Linked DNA regions of Homo sapiens: regions 2, 3, 4 and 5 are each linked to region 1. The links are contacts of gene promoters, found by promoter capture Hi-C in blood cells and fetal thymus (Javierre and others, 2016). All regions are on one chromosome and are shown on one strand. The core of a region is centred on a gene start or on the middle of the fragment in contact, and the rest is flanking DNA. Distances in the headings are between cores, read along the strand shown.

Region 1 (4,140 bases), core at 1,067-3,566:
ACACCACACAGCCCAGCTGCTCCACTGTCTACACCACACAGCCCAGCTGCTCCACTGTCTGTCTACACCACACAGCCCAGCTGCTCCACTGTCTACACCACACAGCCCAGCTGCTCCACTGTCTACACCACACAGCCCAGCTGCTCCACTGTCTACACCACACAGCCCAGCTGCTCCACTGTCTACACCACACAGCCCAGCTGCTCCACTGTCTACACCACACAGCCCAGCTGCTCCACTGTCTACACCACACAGCCCAGCTGCTCCACTGTCTACACCACACAGCCCAGCTGCTCCACTGTCTACACCACACAGCCCAGCTGCTCCACTGTCTACACCACACAGCCCAGCTGCTCCACTGTCTACACCACACAGCCCAGCTGCTCCACTGTCTACACCACACAGCCCAGCTGCTCCACTGTCTACACCACACAGCCCAGCTGCTCCACTGTCTACACCACACAGCCCAGCTGCTCCACTGTCTACACCACACAGCCCAGCTGCTCCACTGTCTACACCACACAGCCCAGCTGCTCCACTGTCTACACCACACAGCCCAGCTGCTCCACTGTCTACACCACACAGCCCAGCTGCTCCACTGTCTACACCACACAGCCCAGCTGCTCCACTGTCTACACCACACAGCCCAGCTGCTCCACTGTCTACACCACACAGCCCAGCTGCTCCACTGTCTACTGTCTACACCACACAGCCCAGCTGCTCCACTGTCTACACCACACAGCCCAGCTGCTCCACTGTCTGGTCCTTTGTCTACACCACACAGCCCAGCTGCTCCACTGTCTACACCACACAGCCCAGCTGCTCCACCGTCTGTCTACACCACACAGCCCAGCTGCTCCACTGTCTAGGTCTGCGTCAGCGCACTCTGCTTCCACAATGATGAAAGTACCTAACAATGAACTTCTCCAAAGTATCCCTGTTAAGTGATGCGGGCCGAACGTTAAATTATCATCTGTAGATGATCTCTTATAGTATCTAAAACATGTAAATCCTACATAAATAGTTGTGCTGTATTGTTTACAGAATAAGTCTGTATATGTTCAGTACAGATGAAATTTTTTTCCAAATATTTTATAATGTGCAGTTGGTTAAATCCATGGATATGGACCCCAAGGATACAGTAGGCCAACTGTATATTAGGTGATCACTAAGATAGGTTTCGTTACTACATAATTACTAGACTTTTTGACATGACTTTTTTTCCGGGGGGATGGGGCTGGGTCTTGCTATGTCTGTCGCCCAAGCTGGAGTGCAGTGGCGCGATCTCGGCTCACTGCAGCCTTCGACTCCGCCTCCCAAAGTGCTGGGATTAAAGGCGTGCACCACCGCCCAGCTGTAATGACAATTGCTCTTTCAGGATTTTCAGAATTCAGATTTTAAAGCTAAGCTGCATAATCACAAGATAAAATGAATACGTCTATTTATGCGTTTAAAGAATACCATGTAGTAGACGCGGGAACACATCATCCAACCCAAGAAAAAGGTCTAGTTCCATCTATGCGATGCTCCCCATCTCTTCTCCTGCTCCATTCCCAGGAGAAGCGCCTTGAGTGTGTTGCTGTCACCCTCTTGCACGGACGCAGGTGTATGCACCCGCGTCACACGCGTGGACTCGGCACGGGGAGGCCGGTGTCGTCACGCTCGTGTTTCTGACGATGCTGTCTACGCTTGTTTCTGAATTCTCTAAGGGGAGACTCGCAACTCTTAGTCTCCTGCGACTCGGTTTCCAGTTCCACGAGTTCCTAAACCTCAGGTGACTGTGCGCAGACGACGATCTTTTCCGCTGACAAAGAATGGCAACGTCTCTGACGCCCCGACTCACGCCTCCGCCTTCCACGGGGCGCGGGCGCCCACCACAGCCCGGGAAGGCCCGGCCTCCCTCCAGTTCGGGAGACCAACGCCGCCACCCCCAGCTGTCCAGGCCTCCGCGCCGAGACCTCACGGGTGGCTCAGACCTCGGGCCTCCTCCCCGCCCCGTCCCGCAGCTCCCCGATGCCGCCCTGCCCCTGTCTCCCGAACTCCGCCGCCCGTCCACAGTACCTGATCAGCCTCCGGCCACAGACAACCGCCGGTCCCGGATGGCGCCCGCTTTGAGCACAGTCTGCGGCGCGCACCGCCCACTGGCCCCGCCCCCGGGCCGCGCAGCCAATCGCTCGCGCCAGCGCCAGTCCACGCCACATCGCCCGGCCAATTGGCGCCCGTACGCGCTTGACGACACAATCTCGCCAAGCTTCGCCTGGTGGTGCCACCTCCCTGGCCTGTGACAACGGCAGACGCGCGAAGCACCGGGAACCTGAGCCGTGACCGCGGGCTCTGGCGCCTTTAAGGGGGTCAACACGCCCCACCCCCAGTTCCGCAGAGGCAGCGTCCCGCGACTGGGCGGTGCCCGAGACCACAGACGCCGCCAGCCAATCACGCTTTCGATCCTGCCGTGCGAGCCCGAGGCGCTGCGAACGGTGCCTAACGTCAGACGTCTCGAGGCTCGCGTTCCATGGAGGAAGCCCTCCCAATCCGAAAGCGCCCGGGCGCCAAGCCCTGCAGCCGGAAGCTCGGCGTCCCATGGGAGCGACCTCCGCATGGCTGGACCAATGGAAACGGAGGAAAGGCGGGACGTCACTGCTGACTGGCTGGTTGGGCACTCCCCCCCCTCCCCCCCCCCGAGTTCCGCCGCTGGGACTACAGCGTTTGGCTGCACGGGGAGTTCTCGTATGTCTAGAACGATGGCCTTTCTGCGGTGTCTGCGACCGGGACCAAGGCGGAGCAAAGTCGCCGGGGGTGTGGGGTGTTCCACGCTATGTTGGGAGTGTTCGCTTTCGAGGTACATGACTACGTTCTAAATTTTTTTTTTTTGAGACAGTTTCATTCTTGTTGCCCAGGCTTGAGTGCAATGGTGCAGTCTCCGCTCACAGCAACCTCCGCCGCCCGGGTTCAGGCAATTGTCCCGTCTCAGCCTCCCAAGTAGCTGGAATTACAGGCATGCGCCACCACGCCCGGCTTATTTCGTATTTTTAGTAGAGACGGGTTTCCGCATGTTGGTCAGGCTGGTCTGGAACTCCTGACCTCAAGTGATCCACCTGGCTCAGCTTACCGAAGTGCTGAGATTCCGGGTGTGAGCCACCGCGCCTAGCCCTCTAAACTTTTAAATAATCGTGAAATGTATGCGCAGCTGAAGCGAATTCAGCTATTTCCTCTACCTTTTGTGTGGAATTTAAAATACTGAACTTGTGAGATGAACCTGGTGGGCACCAGTTCTCAAACTTCTTGGTCACAGGACGCTTGCACTCTCTTAAAATGTACTGAGGACACCTAAAAGCTTTTGCTCACTGTTGTTTACTACTGCTATTTACTAACATAGAAATTAAACATATTAAAATATTCACTTAAAAAACACACGACACTAACATAAGTTATATTTTTATTAAAAATCTTTTCCAGACAAAAAACAGACTTTGATTTTGTTTTATGTGTTGACAGATCTCTTTCATGTCTGGCTTCACACAGATAAGAAAATCTGGCCTCCCGCATGCGCAGCAAGTCCTCACTGCTGTCAGTGCGTTCTTGGGAATCAGGACTTTTAAGTGAAACAACGTATAGCAAAACCAATTTTACCAGAGGCTAAAAAATAAGGATTAAGTTCCTAAAGCATACTTCTGGCCAAGGAAAAAAAAAATCACTAAGCTTCTAAAGGCCAAAGTATTCTAATATTAAACATTGAAATAAATGTGAGCTATACATACATTTAAGAAAGATGAATAAAAAGATAATTATTACTTAATTATTCCAGTTCTGGGTCATGTGTAGCTGAAGCCTGTTTCAGTAGCTCAGGGCACAAAGAGGGAACCAGCCCTGGACAGGACGCCATTCCATCACAGGGCCACTCACACACCCACACTCAGACTGGGACAGTGAAGACACACCAGTTCACCTCACGTGCACACCTCTGGGATGTGGCAAGAACTGCAGCACCCAGAGAAAACCTATGCAGGTGTGGCGAGAACACGTAAACACCACAAAGACAGTGCCCCTGGCTGGGAGTCTTTTTCTCATCAATGTTACAAAGAAATGAATGAGCACCTGCTGTATGCAGTTTGAAAATTGAGAAGTATTTTTTAATAGCCT
Region 2 (4,140 bases), core at 982-3,481, 2.1 Mb after region 1:
CCCACAAAGGACGGTATGCTCAAGAATGTGAGGAACACCAGTACTGTCCATGGGAGTAGTACGGAACTGCACGCTAGGGAAGGAGAATGACCAGAACGCAAAAGGTTCAGCTTAGTGCTGCGGACACAGTTCCCAGATGCATCATCACCTCAGGCTACTAGAAATCATCATTCTGACACCACAATCCTCCAGCACAGGGTTTTCCAACTATAATGTAAATCATTGACTCAGACTGTAAAATTGTATTTTGATGAGATTATAAGTCAGTGTAAACTTTTCCTTATTTTTCAAGATGCTCTGTCAATAAAAATACTAGTGAGATGATATTTTAAACCACGTAATGTATAGCCATGTTTTAAATCAAGCTTGTCCAACCCGCAGCCTGCAGCCCGCATGCTCAGGATGGCTTGAAATGCAGCCCAACACAAATTCATACACTTTCTTAAAACATTGAGGGGTCCTTTATTTATTATTTTTAGCTCATCAGCTGTCCTTAGTGTTAGTGTATTTTATGCGTGGCCTAAGACAGTTGTTCTTCTTCCATTGTGGCACAGGGAAGCCAAAAGAATGGACATTCCTGATTTAAATAAAAACATTCAAGACCATGTTCTTACAATGCACCACACACCTGAACAGATTATTCGTGTCTTCTCTGGCCAGGTGTAAATACCTGGCTCCTGTGTCATCATGGGTGAGCTTCACTGCAGTCAGGAACAGCTCGGGAACAGATGTCACCTGAGTTAACAAGAAAAACACGACCAGTTAAACTTAGACAAAATGGCCTTTGAAATGGTTATGTTCGACACACTGAGAAAACTGGCTTTTCTGCCTGAAATTAGATGATGCCGGGAAGGCAGTATTTCAGAGCTGGAGAGAAGAGAACCATCTTGTCCAGGTCCCTTATCCTACAAACAAGGAAAGACAGACCTAAAAAAGGCAGATGAGAATATGTGTGTGTGTGTATAGAAAGAGAGAGAGAGCGAGCGAGCGAGCGAGCGCGAGAGCGCACGCGCTTACTACTGGCTAGGTATTTTAGATTTTTTTATTTTTTAAATTTTTTATTCTTTTTTTGGCTAGGCATTTTCTAATCATGTCACATATAATCCTGTGAGGGAGGTATTCTCATACTCATTTACAGACGAAAAAACCGAGGCTCAGGGTGATGAAATAAGCTGCCTAAATCACAGAGCCAGGATTCACCCTGGTGTCTGCCCTTCCCATGGTACCATGCTGCACCTAAGTAACAGAGCGCCCTTTCCAATGTCTGCTGAGTGTCTCCTGCTTTTGTGTGCTGTGCCTCAGTAACACAGCGCCCCTTCCAATGTCTGCTGAGTGTCTCCTGCTTTTGTGTGCTGCGCCTCAGTAACACAGCACCCCTTCCAACGTTGGCTGTGTGTCTGTTTCTGTGCATATCATCTCCTGTAGTGCGCAGAACGGGCCTGCAAGGAGGGGAAATGCTAGAGTGGGCTAGCCTGCGACAGCAGGGAGAGGCTCTAGGATCAGCCTTTGCTTCTCTTAGTTTAGGATGGGTTCTCGGTGGTAGCTAGAAGCACAAAGCTGTGGCTTCCAGAACAGCTGGAGGGGCCGGGAGGATAGAAATGCCCACAAGACAGACGAAAGACTCCCCACTCCTGGGGCGGCGTGGAAGGTCATCTCCTACTTTAGGTAAGCCTCCTGGTAAGTGACCATACTCCTCGGTATGAAAGAAACTGTCTTCTCTTCCAGTCATGCCAGCCGGCCCTCTCCCTCAATCACACACCACGTCCCTGTGATCACCACACCACTCACCACCCCCTCCTGCCAGGTGCCATGAGTCACCTGGCCAAGCGCACACAGTAAGTCGCTGGCCAAGGTCAGACCTCGGGTCTCCTCAGCCCAATCTAGGGAGCCTGCCACGCAACAGTCATGCATAAAGCAGACCACTATGACCTGCATCATCTACCGCCGCGAAATTACTTCTGTTTCCAAGCTCACTGTACTTTGTAACAGATGATCAATGCTTTTGAAGTCAGCAGATACAGTGAGATGTTTGCTTTCTAATAATATATAGCTTTAATAATAATAGCTTTCATGGTAGCTATTTCTCAAACAAGAATCATGACTTATCGTAAGTTTCTATGGCTGGACACAGTGGCTCACACCTATAATCCCAGCACTTTGGAAGGCCAAGGTGATATGGTTTGGCTGTGTCCCCACCCAAATCTCATCTTGAATTGTAGTTTCCATAATCCCCACATGTTGTGGGAGGGACCTGGTGGGAGGTAATTGAATCAAGAGGGCGGTTTCCTCCATGTTATTCTCGTGACAGTGAGCACGTTCTCATGAGAGCTGACGGTTTTATAAGGGGCTTCCCCCTTCACTTGATCCTCATTCTCTCCCCTGCCGCCCTGTGAAGAGATGCCTTCCACCACGATTGTGTTTCCTGAGGCCTCCCCAGCCATGCAGAACTGTGAGTCAATTAAACCTCTTCACTTTTTAGCTCATACTTTATAAATTACCCAGTCTTGGGTATTTCTTCATAGCAGTGTGAGACTAGACTAATACACAAGCAAAAGGATTGCTTGAACCCAGGAGTTTGAGACCAGTCTAGGCAACAAAGTTTCCATCTACACACACACACACACACACACACACACACACACACACACACACACACACAATTAGCCAGGCGTGGTGGCACCTTGTCCCAGCTACTTGGCAAGAGGATCGCTTGAGCCCAGGAGTTCGAGGCTGCAGTGAGCCAAGATCATACCACCACACTCCAGCCTGGGCGACAGGGTGAGTCCCAGTCTCAAAAGTAAATACGTTTCTATAAAATTTGAGAAATAAAGGAGGAGAATCTACCGCTGTGGGTGAGGCCCTTATTAACAGTAACCTGTACCATAAACCCAAGTGTCTTTGCCTGGCCTTTGCAGGATTTCACAAACGCTCCAAGTCTTTTCATGAGTCCCATGCCTGGACCTTGTCTGGCGCACCCTAGTCACTGCCCTGGCTCCCTTGCTGGAGCCCTGACCGAAGGCAGCCACGTTCTCACACCACCCTCTCCAGGAGCTCTTCCCTCTGCCCCCAGCAGCAGCAGCTCCCACTCCTCCTCCTGCCCTTGTCCTTGGCCCTCCGCGTGGCGTCCACCATGTGCCTCCGGTCACAGCCGCAGCAGTCTTTCTAGACAGTAAGCTGTTTGTCTTTCACGTTTGCTATAACATCAAGCATAGCACAAAGCCAACAGCTGGCCAAATACATGAAGCGTGTCATTTTCAGTTACCATGCTAAATAGAAACAATGCAAAAGGTTTAGGCAAAATAACAAAACAAAAACCAAATGAATCTATTTTAATACAGACCCAAGTAAGTACAGGTCCACAATTGCTTCTTTATCATTCTGAAACCCGAATGGCTCAGAAAACTGAAAGGTTCTGCGGACGTTTAGAGCAAGCTATTTGATGGCAAAACCTGACTAAACAGATCAGGGCAGTGAGTCTTCATGCTCATGCTCAGTGAAACATCAGGTTTGGCTGCAGAAACGCTAGTGTGTCTGATTACAGAGACCCAGCTGGAAGTGTTACTCTCTAAAATCTCACAAGAACCAGGCTTTGCGGGATTCCAGGAAGGGACTGGGGCTCATTTCACTCACAAGCTCTGTTCAGCCGAGTAGCTGCCACACAGCAGGAGCTGGGCCAGGGCCTTGGGACACAAGGACAAAAACGCTAGTCTCCGCCCTGAAGGGCTCCGTACATAGGCCAGAAGCCGCACCTGCAATGTATGTGGATTTATAAGGAGGTGCCGAGGACGACCCATACCTGGTTTACGGTGAATCCATGGATCTTGTCTCCTAGTTTATACTGCAGAGCCCTCTCACAAGCCCGGTTACTGTTCCATCGCCACGCTCTGTGGTGTGCATGTCTAGATTAAAAGTCATCTAAGTTAGATGAGTTGCAGGAAAAGTATCTGGCTAACATTATTCAGCCACATAGTGAAAATACTCTCATGTAATAAAGATTATTAAAGAAAAATTAAATATTGCATCTTCCAAAGTCTTGCACATTCCAGAAAACTGATTTCTGGTAAGGTCCTTTCCATTTTAATGATCTTTATCTTAACTAAAGCTTCAATGTTGGAAACCTTTTCTTTACACTTGTTCACA
Region 3 (4,140 bases), core at 898-3,397, 2.0 Mb after region 1:
TGAGTGAGAACAGGCAATGTTTCTCTTTTTATGCCTGGCTTATTTCTTATTTCTTTTTCCATACAGAGTTTTGCTCTGTTGCCCAGGCTGGAGTGCAATGGCCCAGTCTTCGCTCACTGCAACCTCTGCCTCCCGGGTTCAAGCGATTCTCCTGCCTCAGCCTCCTGAGTAGCTGGGATTACAGGCACCCACCACCACGCCTGGCTAAATTTTTTTATTTTTAGTAGAGATGGGGTTTCACCATGTTGGCCAGGCTGGTCTCAAACTCCTGACCTCAGGTGATCCTGCCCTCCTGGGCCTCCCAAAGTGCCGGGATTACAAGCATGAACCACCACGCCCATATGCCTGGCTTATTTCACTTAACAGTAAAGCACTTTCATCCCCATTGCCACAAATGATGGGGTTTTCTCCTTTATGGGTGAACGGTGTTGTGTTGTGGGCGTGCACCACGTTTTCTTTGTCCATTTATCCGCTGACGGGCGCTGATTCCACACTGGGCTGTTGTGATGGGGAGTGAATGTAGGAGTGCGGAGGTCTCTTTCTGCCGATTCCCTTTCTCGGGGTATATGCCCAGCAGTGGGGCTGCTGGCTTGTGGGGGAGTTCTATGCATGTCATAGTCTCATACAAGCATGCAATGCATCATGATAAAATCAGGGTAAGTAGCATATCCATCACCTCAAGAACAATCATCTCTTTGTGTTAGGAACACTCCAATTTTACTCTTTTAGTTATTTTGAAATATTATTTTGAATATATATTATGTATATATTATTATACATTATGTATAATATGAATTATATATGTATTATACATATCGTATACAATGTTATACATTATGTATAACATTATTATATATTATTAAACATTATTATACATTATTAACTGTAGTCGCTCCATAGTATCACTCATCCCTGGATTTTATTCCTTCTATCTCAAACTGTTTTTTACCCATTAACCATCCTTCTTTACACCCCTGCTTCCTTCTACTTTTCCCAGCCTCTGGTAACCATCATTCTGTTCTCTGTCTCCACGAGATCAATCCTAACTCTGTCTTCATGAGATCAATTTTTTATTTAAGCTTAAATGTATGAGTAAGAGATTGCAGTATTTGTCTTTCTGTGCCTGGCTTATTTCACCTAATTTCTGCCTGTTCCATCCATGTTGCTCAGAATGACAGGATTCATTCTTTTTTATTGGCTGAATAATATTCCATTGTGTATCAAGATGTGGAATCAGTCTAAGTGGCCATCAGTGGGTGCGTGGATAAAATGTGGCGTATATACGCAATGGAATATTTTTAAGCCATTAGAAAACCTGCTTTTTAAAATCCCAAGTCTTCTGAGTCCTGGCCTGCCTCTCAGACCTGGGTTTTGGGTGAGCCATCGTGGGCCTGCAGGACGTACTGCAGTGACTGTGGATGCATAAATCAACCTTTCATTTCTGTGTGCTCATCTGTGCAGTAGAAATGGTGTTTGCCCTCCTGTCTCCCTGGTAGAAAGGACTTGGAAAAGTCTGAGACTAACGGGGCAGAGGAGCTGTTTGACTGCTTTTCAGGGATGAGACGCGCATGCCTTTGACTCCATGGGTGTGTGGCCAGGTAGGGAAACGGGGTCTGCACCTGAACACATCTATTCACAGATGGCTCTGCACTGAAGAGGCTCAGCCCCCTCCCCGGCCTGGTCTCTGCGTCATACCCACAGGCTGGGCTTCTCTCTGAGTGTCAGGGCGATGGCATCTGGGGTGGGCAATTCTTGGTGGGCGGTCCTTTGACTCTCAGGATGCGGAGCAGCACCCCTGTGTCCACCTACCCCATAGTCATGACAGTCAAAGATGTCCTTACAGTATCTCCAACATCGGCGAACGTCCTATGGGGGGAAAATCACTCTTTTGGGGGACCGCTGTTCTAGACCTATTTGGGCTCAAATTGAGGGGATATTATGTTTTATTTTTTTAAGGATGACTCAGTAATTTATCCAACAGATTTTTTTCACCTATACTCTAGTTTCTAACCTAGAGCTCTCTGGGTTACCAACAGACCAGGACAGTTAAACAGGTTACTATTAATTAAAGGGGTTTGTTTTTTCCTTCAGTAGTGCATGTGTGAAGAAAGTATTAACCTGGGAACAGTGGCGTTTCTGCTGAAAGCCTGGCCTTCATCGAGGGACCTCTGCTGTCTGGCCGCTGCTTGAGCTCCTATAAACCTGGGCCAAGCCTACGTGTGAAGCATGCCAAGCCTTGGGCTGCATTCCAGGGAGACTCGGGGAGGGTTTGCCAGTTAACCCATTCCTTTCTACCTGGTGAACCAATTGTTGCTTCTTTCTTTTTTCTCTTAAGCTAAGGTTTTTCCTTAGAAGCCTACAAATGGCTTTAGCTTCTTGGAGATGATGATACTAAGTATATCAGATGCTTTGACCCAAAGGCCATGCCCAGGGTAAACTACCCTGGCTCTGGTGGGTCCAAACCAAGCTGGGGCGAGTCAGTTGGTTAATCCAGGGCTGCCACTGTGTCTGCAGGAAACAGTCGGCTCCTTGCATTTGGTTTCATTCATGAATTTCATATCCTGTTGTTGAATATTCTTCTGCAGATTTCAGAAATTGTTCATATTATTATAGCTCTTCAAATATGACTCACTTAAGATTCTTGCCGAGCACCGTGGCTCATACTTGTAGTCCCAGTACTTTGGGAGGCTGAGGCGGATGGATCCTTTGAGGTCAGGAGTTAAAGACCAGCGCGGCCAACATGACGAAACTCCGTCTCTACTAAGAACACAACAGGTAGCTGGGCGTGGTGTAATCCTTGGAAGGCTGAGGCTTGAACTCAGGAGGTGGAGGTTGCAGTGAACCTAGATTGCGCCACTGCATTCCAGCCTGGGTGACAGAGCGAGACTGTGTCAAAAAAGAAAAAGAAAAAAGTCTTTTATCTTAATTTTTTGTTTGTTTTAAAGTTTGGTTCTGCTCTAGACAGCTGTTTGTAAACAATATCAGAGCTGTCTTTGTCATAGTCCACACCCTAAAGAAAGGCTAGGAATAATTCTGATCATTTTATCGCTAGTTTTTTCCATGATTAAAAATAACACATTCAAAAGGTGTCAGATAAGTGATGCCTTTTTATGTTGAAAGGATAAAGGGTGTTGGTACAGCATCAGCATCCAGCCTCTGGTCTTCCCAGATGTGCTGCCATGGAGCCTGTGCCACCTGACCCCCGCCACCGGCCCCCAAGCTTAGCTCAGGTGCCCGAGGGTCTCCATCTCCCCATGGCCCCCGGTCAGCAGCCCTGTCCCTGCACCCAGACTGGCCAACCCTTCTGAGCTTGAAATATCAGCATGTGATCTTAGCTTCCCTTGTTTCAGCCCTGAGCATTACAGCTTGACTTACTATACCAATAAACAAACCATTAACTTATCAATGAATTGATTGGCATCATGCTTCCCTTCTTTAGTTGGTCTCGTGGAGGTAGAGAGGAGGATGTAGATAGCAGAGGCTGGGAAGGGGGTGTGGACAGGAGGGGATGCAGAGAGGTGGATGGGTGCAAACATATGCTTAGATAGGAGTAGGTTCCAGTGTTGATAGCGGAGTAGGCTGGCTGTGTTAGCAACAGCGTATTATATTAATGTATTTCAGAGCAGCTGGGGGAGAGGACTGGAAATGTTCTGAATGGGTTGAAGTTAAAAATACCCAGGGTGACAGACACCCCAGTACCCTAATTTGGTCATTACAGGTTCTGTGCATGCAACAGATACTCACATGTACCCCACAAATATGTAAAATTATATGTGTCAATAAAATTGAAAAAATATGGGGGAAAAAAACCTTTCCCTTCCTGATAGAAACCCTTCATTCTTCATTAGCCATAGGAAATATTTCTTTTGGGTTAAAATGAAGCTCCTGCTTTTACAATTTTTAAAGTGAGAAATCTCACACTTGTGACCCAAAATAAACACCTTTTCCCCAGAAGTGCTGGTGCTCCCCTGTCTGAGGAAAGGGGTGTGGGGGACCTCTCCTAATCTGGAGGATGCCTGAGCTGCTGGGATGTGTAGATGGGGGTGGCCACGGAAGCCTGAGCTCCTGGGATGTGTGGATGGGGGTAGGGGGGTGGCCATGGAAGCCTGAGCTCCTGCTCCTGGGATGTGTGGAAGGGGG
Region 4 (4,140 bases), core at 419-2,918, 2.0 Mb after region 1:
TACCAATCTGATGGGCCATCAGAAGCAATTAAAATTAGAAAGGTGAAGATACGGTAACGTAGTCAGGACAAACATCAGGATACCAGATTGCACGTTCACAATGGCATTTCGGCTAAGAAAGTGCGGGTGAATATAGAACAGAGGGCCGTATGTCAGTAATTGGGTTCCGTTTTGTGTTTCTTTTCCACAAGCCCTTTCTGGTGTTGTGTTTTTGTTTATTAGAGAGTAGCTGCCCAAAGGCTACAGTTTCCCTCCCCACTCCTCGGTTCTCTCCGTCTTCACCCCCAACTCCCAGTCCTGTGTTTGGAATTACAGTCATTGTGCTTGTCAGGATGTAAGAGGCAGCCAGACACATGGCAGACCAGAGCACTGAGAGGCAGAGACATTTATAGGTCCTAGCCCTGGTCCTGCTGTCTGGGTCAGCAGGGTGCTGAGTGCTGAGTGCTGAGATAGGGTCTTGATGTTTTCCTCTGCAGAATGGAGGCATCACTCAGTCTCTGTCTCCTCTCCCTGTCTCTGTCTTCCCTCCCCTCTTCCCTAACACATATCCACAGTGAAAGTGTTCAGGAGGAAAAGAGAATAGGCTGGACTGTGCTGGGACCCCCAACCCCAGGGCCCGTGTGCTATTTTCCCAGCCTCCGTGTGCCCAGAGATGCCTAGGGGAGCCTGCGGAGGTGTAGATCCTGACTGTGTGGGTCTGAGTGAGGCTCCGACTCTCACGGGGAGGGCACCGGTGCTGCTGGACCCCCTGGGGCCAGTGGAGCGGTTTGCAAATCGGGCAGATCAGCTTCTCCACTTCTCCAGGTTTCCCCAATGTGAGATGCTCCCAGGAGTCCCATGGGATTGTTTTCTGACTTTGACCAGGATTTTGACAGAGAAGATTCATTAATATAGGACCCCTTGTCTAAACGTACATATGTAAATGATCTGATCCGAAGTTTCCTGAATGGAAAATGATTGAAAGGGTGGCATGCAGTAGCCTCGGGGAGTCAGTCCTTCATATCTTTTCAGCTGTGTCTTACTACGATTAAGATTTTATTTCTGTGTGTGTGTGTGTTTTTTTTGTTTGTTTGTTTGTTTGTTTTTGAGACGGGATCTTGCCCTCTTGCCCAGCCTGGAGTGCAGTGGCTTGATGTCGGCTCACTGCAACCTCCGCCTCCTGAGTTCAAGCGATTTTCCTGTCCCAGCCTCCCAAGTAGCTGGGATTACAGGCATGCGCCACCATGCTCACCTGATCTTTTTTGTATCGTTAGTAGAGATGGGTTTCACCGTGTTGGTCAGGCTGGTCTCGAACTCCTGACCTCAAGTGATCCACCTGCCTTGGCCTCCCAAAGTGCTGGTATTACAGGCTGGAGCCACTGCACCCAGCCTTATTTCTGTGTTTCTGTAATCATTGTGCATGTTAACAGACTGCCTTGGGTGAGTCAGGACAGGATTTTGGCAAAAGAACCAGGCCCTTTCTGCCTGGAGCTGTCACTCCTGTGGTGAGGTGCGGGTACGACGTGCCTGTAGCCTGACCTGAGAGGAAAAGCTCCTGTCTTATGAAAGGGCCCAGGGGAACCTCTGGTTGGGGCCCTTTGACCTGACCTGACAGTGAGGGAGGAGTCCGTAGAGGAGAGTGGCCCAGTGGAGGACTTTGGCTTTGCCTTGGGTGAACTGGGAAGCAGGTGGAGGGAAGCAGACTGACTGTCTCCGATAAGGGTGGCTTTGTGGAGAGGAGAGGAGGGGAGGGGAGGCCACAAGTTTAGGGTATCACAAGGAGCAGGCCACAGATGGAAGGTTATGGGGTGGGGCACGTGGCAGGGCAGCCCTGTGTCCACAGACACATCCCGCCAAGGGGACCCAGAGACTTGAGTGTGTCAGGGCTTGGGGTGAATGGGCACTCAGCTGTTACAGCTGGAAGGTAGAGCATGTGAGCTCCAACAGACACAGGCAGGTGGGGGTTAAAGGAGAATCTTCATAGCAGTGCTTAGAATAGCAAAAAGTGGGAAAACCAGCAAAAAACTATCAATAGGAGATTAATTAATTCCATTATGGCACCTGGAATGTGCCGAGACCAGCTCAGTCGGGGAGACCGTAACCCAGCGGCGCTAGAGGAATTAAAGACACACACACACAAATAGAGGTGTGAAGTGGGAAATCCGTGGTCTCACAGCCTTCAGAGCCGAGAGCCCAGAACAGAGATTTACCCACGTGTTTATTAACAGCAAGCCAGTCATCAGCATTGTTTCTACAGATATCAAATTAACTAAAAGTATCCCTTATGGGAAATGAAGGGATGGGCCAAATTAAAGGAATAGGTTGGGCTAGTTAACTGCAGCAGGAGCATGTCCTTAAGGCACATATCTCATGCTACTGCTTGTGGCTTAAGAATGCCTTTAAGCAGTTTTCCACCCTGGGTGGGCCAGGTGCTCCTTGCCCTCATTCCCATAAACCCACAACCTTCCAGCCTGGGCGTTAGGGCCGTTATGAACGTGTCACAGTGCTGCAGAGATTTTGTTTATGGCCAGTTTTAGGGTCAGTTTATGGCCAGATTTGGGGGGGCCTGCTCCCAACAGAATGGAAGGAATTTTTGTCAGCGTTTAATAAGGAGCTTTGTGCTGGTCGAAAGTCAAGAGGTACACAGTATACTCAAGGGCAGTATTGAAGAGCCGATTCCAGAGCGGCTTCCCTCTGGAGCCAGTGGGGCAGTTTGCAAATCCAGGCAGATCAGCTTCTTGGAGGTTTCTCCAACGGGAGAATCTCCCAAGAGTGAGGCTTGCATGTGGGTGGCCTGTGTTATATATGCAATTTTAAATGATCTAGTTGCCGCATTAAAGAAAGGCGGGGCAGGGGGCCGGGAGTGGGGGACTCTGGGTGCCAAGACTCAACATCTGTAATCCCAGCCCTTCAGGAGCCCAAGGCAGGTGGATCACTTGAGCCCAGGAGTTTGAGGCCAGCCTGGGCAACATGGCAAGACCTAGTCTCTACAAAAAATACAAAACAATTAGTCAGGCGTGGCGGTGCACACCTACAGTCCCAGCCCCGTGGGAGATTGAGGTGGGAGGATTGCCTGAGCCCAGGAGTTGGAGGCCGCAGTGAGCTGTGACTGCACCAGTTCACTCCAGCCTGGGCAACAGAGTGAGACCCTATCGCAAAAAAAAAAAAAAAAAAAAGTAGTGAACCCGGGAAGCGGAGCTTGCAGTGAGCCGAGATCGCGCCACTGCAGTCCGCAGTCCGGCCTGGGCGACAGAGCGAGACTCCGTCTCAAAAAAAAAAAAAAAAAAAAAAAGTAAAAACCGGTAAAAGCAAAAAACTATGTTTTATATTCAATCCACTATTTTGATAACAATCAATTATTGTAGATTATTCATATTTTACACTGTTTTCCGTAGTAAGTCTTTGAAACCCAGTGTGTAAAGAAGCTTAAAGCACATCTCCATGTGGACGGGACGCACGTGGCCAGCGGCTCCTCTGAGGGACAGTGTGGTCACGCAATGGGTGGCGTGTGCTGCCTGTATTTAGAAGGTCCCCATGTGGGTGTTTTTGCGAAGGCTCTGAGGGATGTGCAGGGGAGGGCCGACACTGTCCCAGCCACGCAGAGGACCCTGGAATGCAGCATGCTGCCGCCGCGCCCCCGCCCCAGCCCCTCTGCTACCTGAGCTCTTTCCCAGATGTCCATTTGGCTAAACTCCCTCAACTTCTTCCCTTTCCTTCTTTCTCCAAACGTCACTCTCAGGCAGGTCTGCAGGCTCTCCGATTGTCAATGGCAGCCCCTCCCTGTCCTCCACACCCTCAACACCCCCCACCCCGCTTGTTATTTTTCTCCTTAGCACTTACGGCCATCCATCCATGGGCATCATGCATTTGTTCACTGTGTTTCTTGCTTTCGGGTCTCTCCTGATCGGAACAAGCTCTTCCAGGGCCAGAGGCTTCCCATCTTGTCACTGATGCATCCACACAGAGCCCAGCAGAGGTGGCACTTGGGGCACCCGAGCTGGACAGTGGGTTGGTGGTTGAGTGAAGAGCCCTACAGATTTATCTCAAGCCCTCCCCTGACCCTACTAGAAGACACGGTGGTCTGCACAGTCCAGGAGGTCAGAGAGGCCCCCCAGTTCGATGACTTTGAACTGGCAGGGGTGGGGAGGGAACAGCACCTTG
Region 5 (4,140 bases), core at 1,174-3,673, 2.0 Mb after region 1:
AGAAGGTACGCTCGGGCTCCAGACAGTTGGCCTGGTTCTTTGGACAAAAGTGGTGAATTGGTCCTCTCTCTCTCTCTCTCTCTTTCTCCCTCTCTCTGTCCTTTCCTCCCTCCCTCTATCCATCCCTTTCTCTCTCTCTCCCTCTCTCTCTGTCTCTCCCTCCCTCCCTTTCTCCCTTTCTATCTCCCTCTACCTCTCTCTCTCTCTCTCCGTCTCCCACTCTCCCCCTCTCTCTCTGTCTCCCTGCCTGCTTCTCTCTCCCCTCCCCGCATCCCACACACATCATGGTAGAAACGCCGCTTGGTATCATCCCACATCCTCTGTGCCCATCCTCTTCTGCCAACCCACCCTCTGATCTGTATACGGGTCCCTGGTTTATTCTGTCCACCCGAAAAATCTCAGCCCTGCAGGTAGAAGATGCTGCTGTTCTATTTCCATGATGCCAAATGCCTAGAAATTAAGGGAAAAACCCATTCACCAAAAAAAAAAAAGGACCTTATGGAGAATCCTAGCATTTACTTCTGTTATGCTCCTTTTTTTTTTTTTCCTTTTTTTTTTAGGGTCTCAGTCCTGGGAAGCTCTGGGATGAACATGGCTCCTGAGCATAGACACCACCCTGACAGAGGCTCGTGCGTGTTCAGCTTCATCCTCGGAACTTTACACTCACTCTTGACTCACTCCACTTTCTGTGTCTTTTTTTTTTTTTTGGCCTGACTTTTAAAAAAACAATCTGAGAATAAAGTGTAAAAAGAAAGTTTCTGAATCCTTAACTGAGGTCAAAATCTTGGAGCGAAAGCCAAAGATGCAGTGGCCAAGAAGCCCGGGGAACGGGGGGCGCCCCCCAACCCAGAATCAGTCACCAGTGGGGAGAAAACCCCCGAACCCAGAATCAGTCAGCAGTGGAGAGAAAACCCCCGAACCCAGAACCAGTCAGCAGTGGAGAGAAAACCCCCGAACCCAGAACCAGTCAGCAGTGGAGAGAAAACCCCCGAACCCAGAACCAGTCAGCAGTGGGGAGAAAACAAGAGCTTCTATGTGCGGCTCCCTGACGAGCACTTGGAAAGCAAATGCGTTTCAGCCCAGAAGAAGGTCAAGTGAGGAAATGCCCTAAATGGGGCTTATTCCTTGCCCAGCCCTGAGACTGGGCTGGAGGCCCCAGGCAGGAGAGGGAGGGCCAGGCCGTTTCAGGCTGTCACCACAGAAAATGCTGATGGAGCAGGAGGCTGCAGAGTGAGTCGACCTTTCTGCCCTCTATGCAGAGGCCCAGCCCTTGTGGGCGGACCTCCTGACTCCCTCTTCTTACTTAGTCTGGCTACTGTTGGCATATTAAAGTTGGTGATCATTTTGAACATGAGTGCTAAACTGAATTTTGTTAATTCTAATAATTTATCAAAGCATTTTACTATTTCTAGGAAACAGAATTACATTGTCCTCAGAATAATTTTGTCTTTCTTGTTAATAATAATAGTCCTTCAGTCTCCCTGCCTTCCCTCTGGGTGTGAGCGCATCTCTGCCAATGTGGGGCATGAGAACGGATGCCAGAGGCAGACCAAGCAGTTCAGAGGCTATAGCAGCAATTTATTTTTATTTTTATTTATTCATATACATTTTTTTGAGATGGAGTCTTACTCTGTTGCCCAGGCTGGACTGCAATGGCATGATCTCGGCTCACTGCAACCTCTGCCTCCTTGGTTCAAGAGACTCTCCTGCCTCAGCCTCTGCAGTAGCTAGGATTACAGGTGCCCACCACTGTGCCCGGCTAATTTTTTGTACTTTTAGTAGAGACGGGGCTTCACCTTGTTGGCCAGGCTGGTCTTGAATCCCTGGCTTTGGGTGATCCACCCATTTTGGACTCCTAAAGTGCTGGGATTACAGGCGTGAGCCACTGTGCCCAGCCCATTGTGGCATCTTAATCACAGAGCAAAGAAGGCCTGGACCCAGCACGAAGATGATGAAAAGGGGGAAGAGCAGCTGTCTCACCTACGGTGTTGCCAGGAGCTTCCAACTTCGAACATAAGGGACACTAAGTAGCTTTCCCAATAAAACAACTGAGTTGTTGGATAAAACCTACAAAAATACATCTTTGTAAGTGCACGACTGGGCTGGCATTGAAGGATGGAATCCACAGCAGTCAATAAAGAATTGGCAGGAACCAAAGTGGAATTTTTTTTCTGTTTAGACAGTTGCACAGAGGACAGGGCATAAGAAAGAAAACCGGACGCCTCTCCAAAATGAGGTTGGAAATCTGACATCTTAGACTTAAAATAAAAGCCCACCTTAGAGCAGGAGCAGCAAGGAGAGCACCTGTCCCTGCATTGGTGATGGGTGGAGGGAAAACCACTGACCCTGAGAACCAGTGAGAAACAGTCCTCCAGGAGTTCATGCTGGAAGACATCAAGAGCATGGGTCAAATTGACGTGGCACCAGGTGGCTGCTAGCTTCACCTCTACCCCATGTGAGCAGAAAATCCTTGCTGAAACAATGCAACTCTGTCCTCAAAATATCTCCCCACATAAAATTCCAAGGAAGATAAGTCCAGGTGCAAAAAGTTACAAAACATAAGTAAACAAAGTACTGTGGATACATCCAATAATTCAAGAAACAAATTCAGCAGAGCCACAAAAATCCAAAAGGTGGAAAAGATCAACTGCTGGCAAAGTATCCACTGCTGTTGCAGCTGTGAAGAGACTGTATTTCATAAAAAGCTCTGTGGCCTCACATTTGCCTTCTCAGGCATGTCCCCCCAGAAATGCCCTTGCACTGTCTTGTCCAAGAGACACATATGGGGCAAGAATATTTAGGCAGTGATTGTAGAAATAGAAAACACCTGAAGGCCATCCAAATACACCTCTATCAAGGAAAAAAGTTGGCATACTCACATTGTGCAATATTATACAACAGTGAAAATGAACTGCAGTTAAAAGCATCAACAATGAAAAATTACAGTGAACAAAGGAAATTACTGAAAAATACACTGCTATTCCATATACAGTACACAAACCATATGACTTTGCTTAATAATATACACAGAAATGATAAACCTTATGAAAAGCAAGACAAATATTAACACATGAGTCCTATGTATGGGTGAAGAAGGGAGACCCAGGTGATCAAGGAAGGGCATATTGTAGCCTTTCAAGACACTCGATGCTAAAGGATGATGACAACAGTGCAATTATTACTCTATAGGATTATGCATTCAGTTTTGTTCGTTTCTTTGTTTGTTTTTGAGGTGGAGTTTCGCTCATGTAGCCCAGGCTAGAGTGCAATGGCGCGATCTCAGCTCACTGCAACTTCCGCCTCCCAGGTTCAAACGACTCTCCCGCCTCAGCCTCCCGAGTAGCTGGGATCACAGGCGCCTGCCATGATGCTCGCTAACTTTTTGTATTTTTTTTAATAGAGACGGGTTTCACCATGTTGGTCAGGCTGGTCTTGAACTCCTGACCTCAGGTGATCCACCCACCTCAGCATCCCAAAGTGCTGGGATTACAGGCATGAGCCACCATGACTAGCCAAGTTTTATAGACTCTTATGTGTCATATATTTCATAATTAAACATAAAAAAAGCATTTACTGTAGTTTGTAAATGAAAGAGCAATAAAAAATGTTGCAAACTTTTAAACATAAAACCTGTCGTATAGCTCATAGTGACCCTCATATTAAGCTGTGGTAAATTCCAAGTGTATTTCATTGTAATTATCTAAAAACTAGGTGAACAGATGAAAAATTGAGTTCAGTTTTAAAACAAGATCGTAGGCCGGGTGCGGTGGCTCACACCTGTAATCCCAGCATTCTGGGAGGCCGAGGCTGAAGGATCACGAGGTCAGGAGATCAAGACCATCCTGGCTAATACAGTGAAACCCCATCTCTGCTAAAAATACAAAAAAATATTAGCCGGGCATGGTGGCAGGTGCCTGTAGTCCCAGCTACTCGGGAGGCTGAGGCAGGAGAATGGCGTGAACCCAGGAGGCGGAGCTTCCAGTGAGCCGAGATCGTACCACTGCACTCCAGCCGGGGTGACAGAGCAAGACTCCGTCTCAAAAATAAAAAATAAAAATAAAAAAATAAAATAAAAAAATAAAACAAGATAGTAAGATAATGTTACTGGTTGAAGGTGTCCAGGTTCTTGGCACCTTGAAC

Evidence for each region. Contacts are between HindIII fragments. The CHiCAGO score rates a contact against its expected background, and 5 or more counts as called.
Region 2: a fragment that was not itself captured here is called in contact with the fragment with the promoter of IDI1 in region 1 in 1 of 17 cell types (fetal thymus); the score reaches 5.1 in fetal thymus.
Region 3: a contact is called between a fragment that was not itself captured here and the fragment with the promoter of IDI1 in region 1, in 1 of 17 cell types (endothelial precursors). The highest score is 5.6, in endothelial precursors.
Region 4: a fragment that was not itself captured here is called in contact with the fragment with the promoter of IDI1 in region 1 in 1 of 17 cell types (endothelial precursors); the score reaches 5.5 in endothelial precursors.
Region 5: a fragment that was not itself captured here is called in contact with the fragment with the promoter of IDI1 in region 1 in 1 of 17 cell types (endothelial precursors); the score reaches 7.5 in endothelial precursors.

What each region holds. Positions count from the first base shown.
Region 1 is chr10:1,046,803-1,050,942 of GRCh38, forward strand. It overlaps IDI1 (isopentenyl-diphosphate delta isomerase 1), which reads right to left and starts at 2,317. Exons shown (of 5, transcript NM_004508.4): 1 at 2,062-2,317. The coding sequence starts at 2,201. RefSeq lists enhancers at 1,564-2,094, 2,095-2,624, 2,316-2,365, 2,625-3,154, 2,826-2,965 and silencers at 1,906-1,995, 2,006-2,225. The HindIII fragment of the contact is 1,083 bases long and covers 2,250-3,332 here.
Region 2 is chr10:3,166,308-3,170,447 of GRCh38, forward strand. It overlaps PITRM1 (pitrilysin metallopeptidase 1), which reads right to left. Exons shown (of 27, transcript NM_014889.4): 2 at 3,797-3,899; 3 at 629-735; 4 at 1-73. Among named protein-coding and RNA genes, the nearest start is that of PITRM1, 4.4 kb to the right of the region's middle. RefSeq lists an enhancer at 3,091-3,140. The HindIII fragment of the contact is 3,737 bases long and covers 364-4,100 here.
Region 3 is chr10:3,088,891-3,093,030 of GRCh38, forward strand. The region is part of intron 2 of PFKP (phosphofructokinase, platelet); the gene reads left to right. Among named protein-coding and RNA genes, the nearest start is that of PFKP, 23 kb to the left of the region's middle. RefSeq lists enhancers at 1,781-2,980, 2,461-2,660, 3,515-4,140. The HindIII fragment of the contact is 2,141 bases long and covers 1,078-3,218 here.
Region 4 is chr10:3,072,770-3,076,909 of GRCh38, forward strand. The region is part of intron 1 of PFKP (phosphofructokinase, platelet); the gene reads left to right. Among named protein-coding and RNA genes, the nearest start is that of PFKP, 7.3 kb to the left of the region's middle. RefSeq lists enhancers at 680-1,181, 3,388-3,952, 3,953-4,140. The HindIII fragment of the contact is 3,467 bases long and covers 1-3,402 here.
Region 5 is chr10:3,047,655-3,051,794 of GRCh38, forward strand. No RefSeq gene overlaps it. Among named protein-coding and RNA genes, the nearest start is that of PFKP-DT, 17 kb to the right of the region's middle. RefSeq lists enhancers at 1-597, 1-488. The HindIII fragment of the contact is 6,297 bases long and covers 1-4,140 here.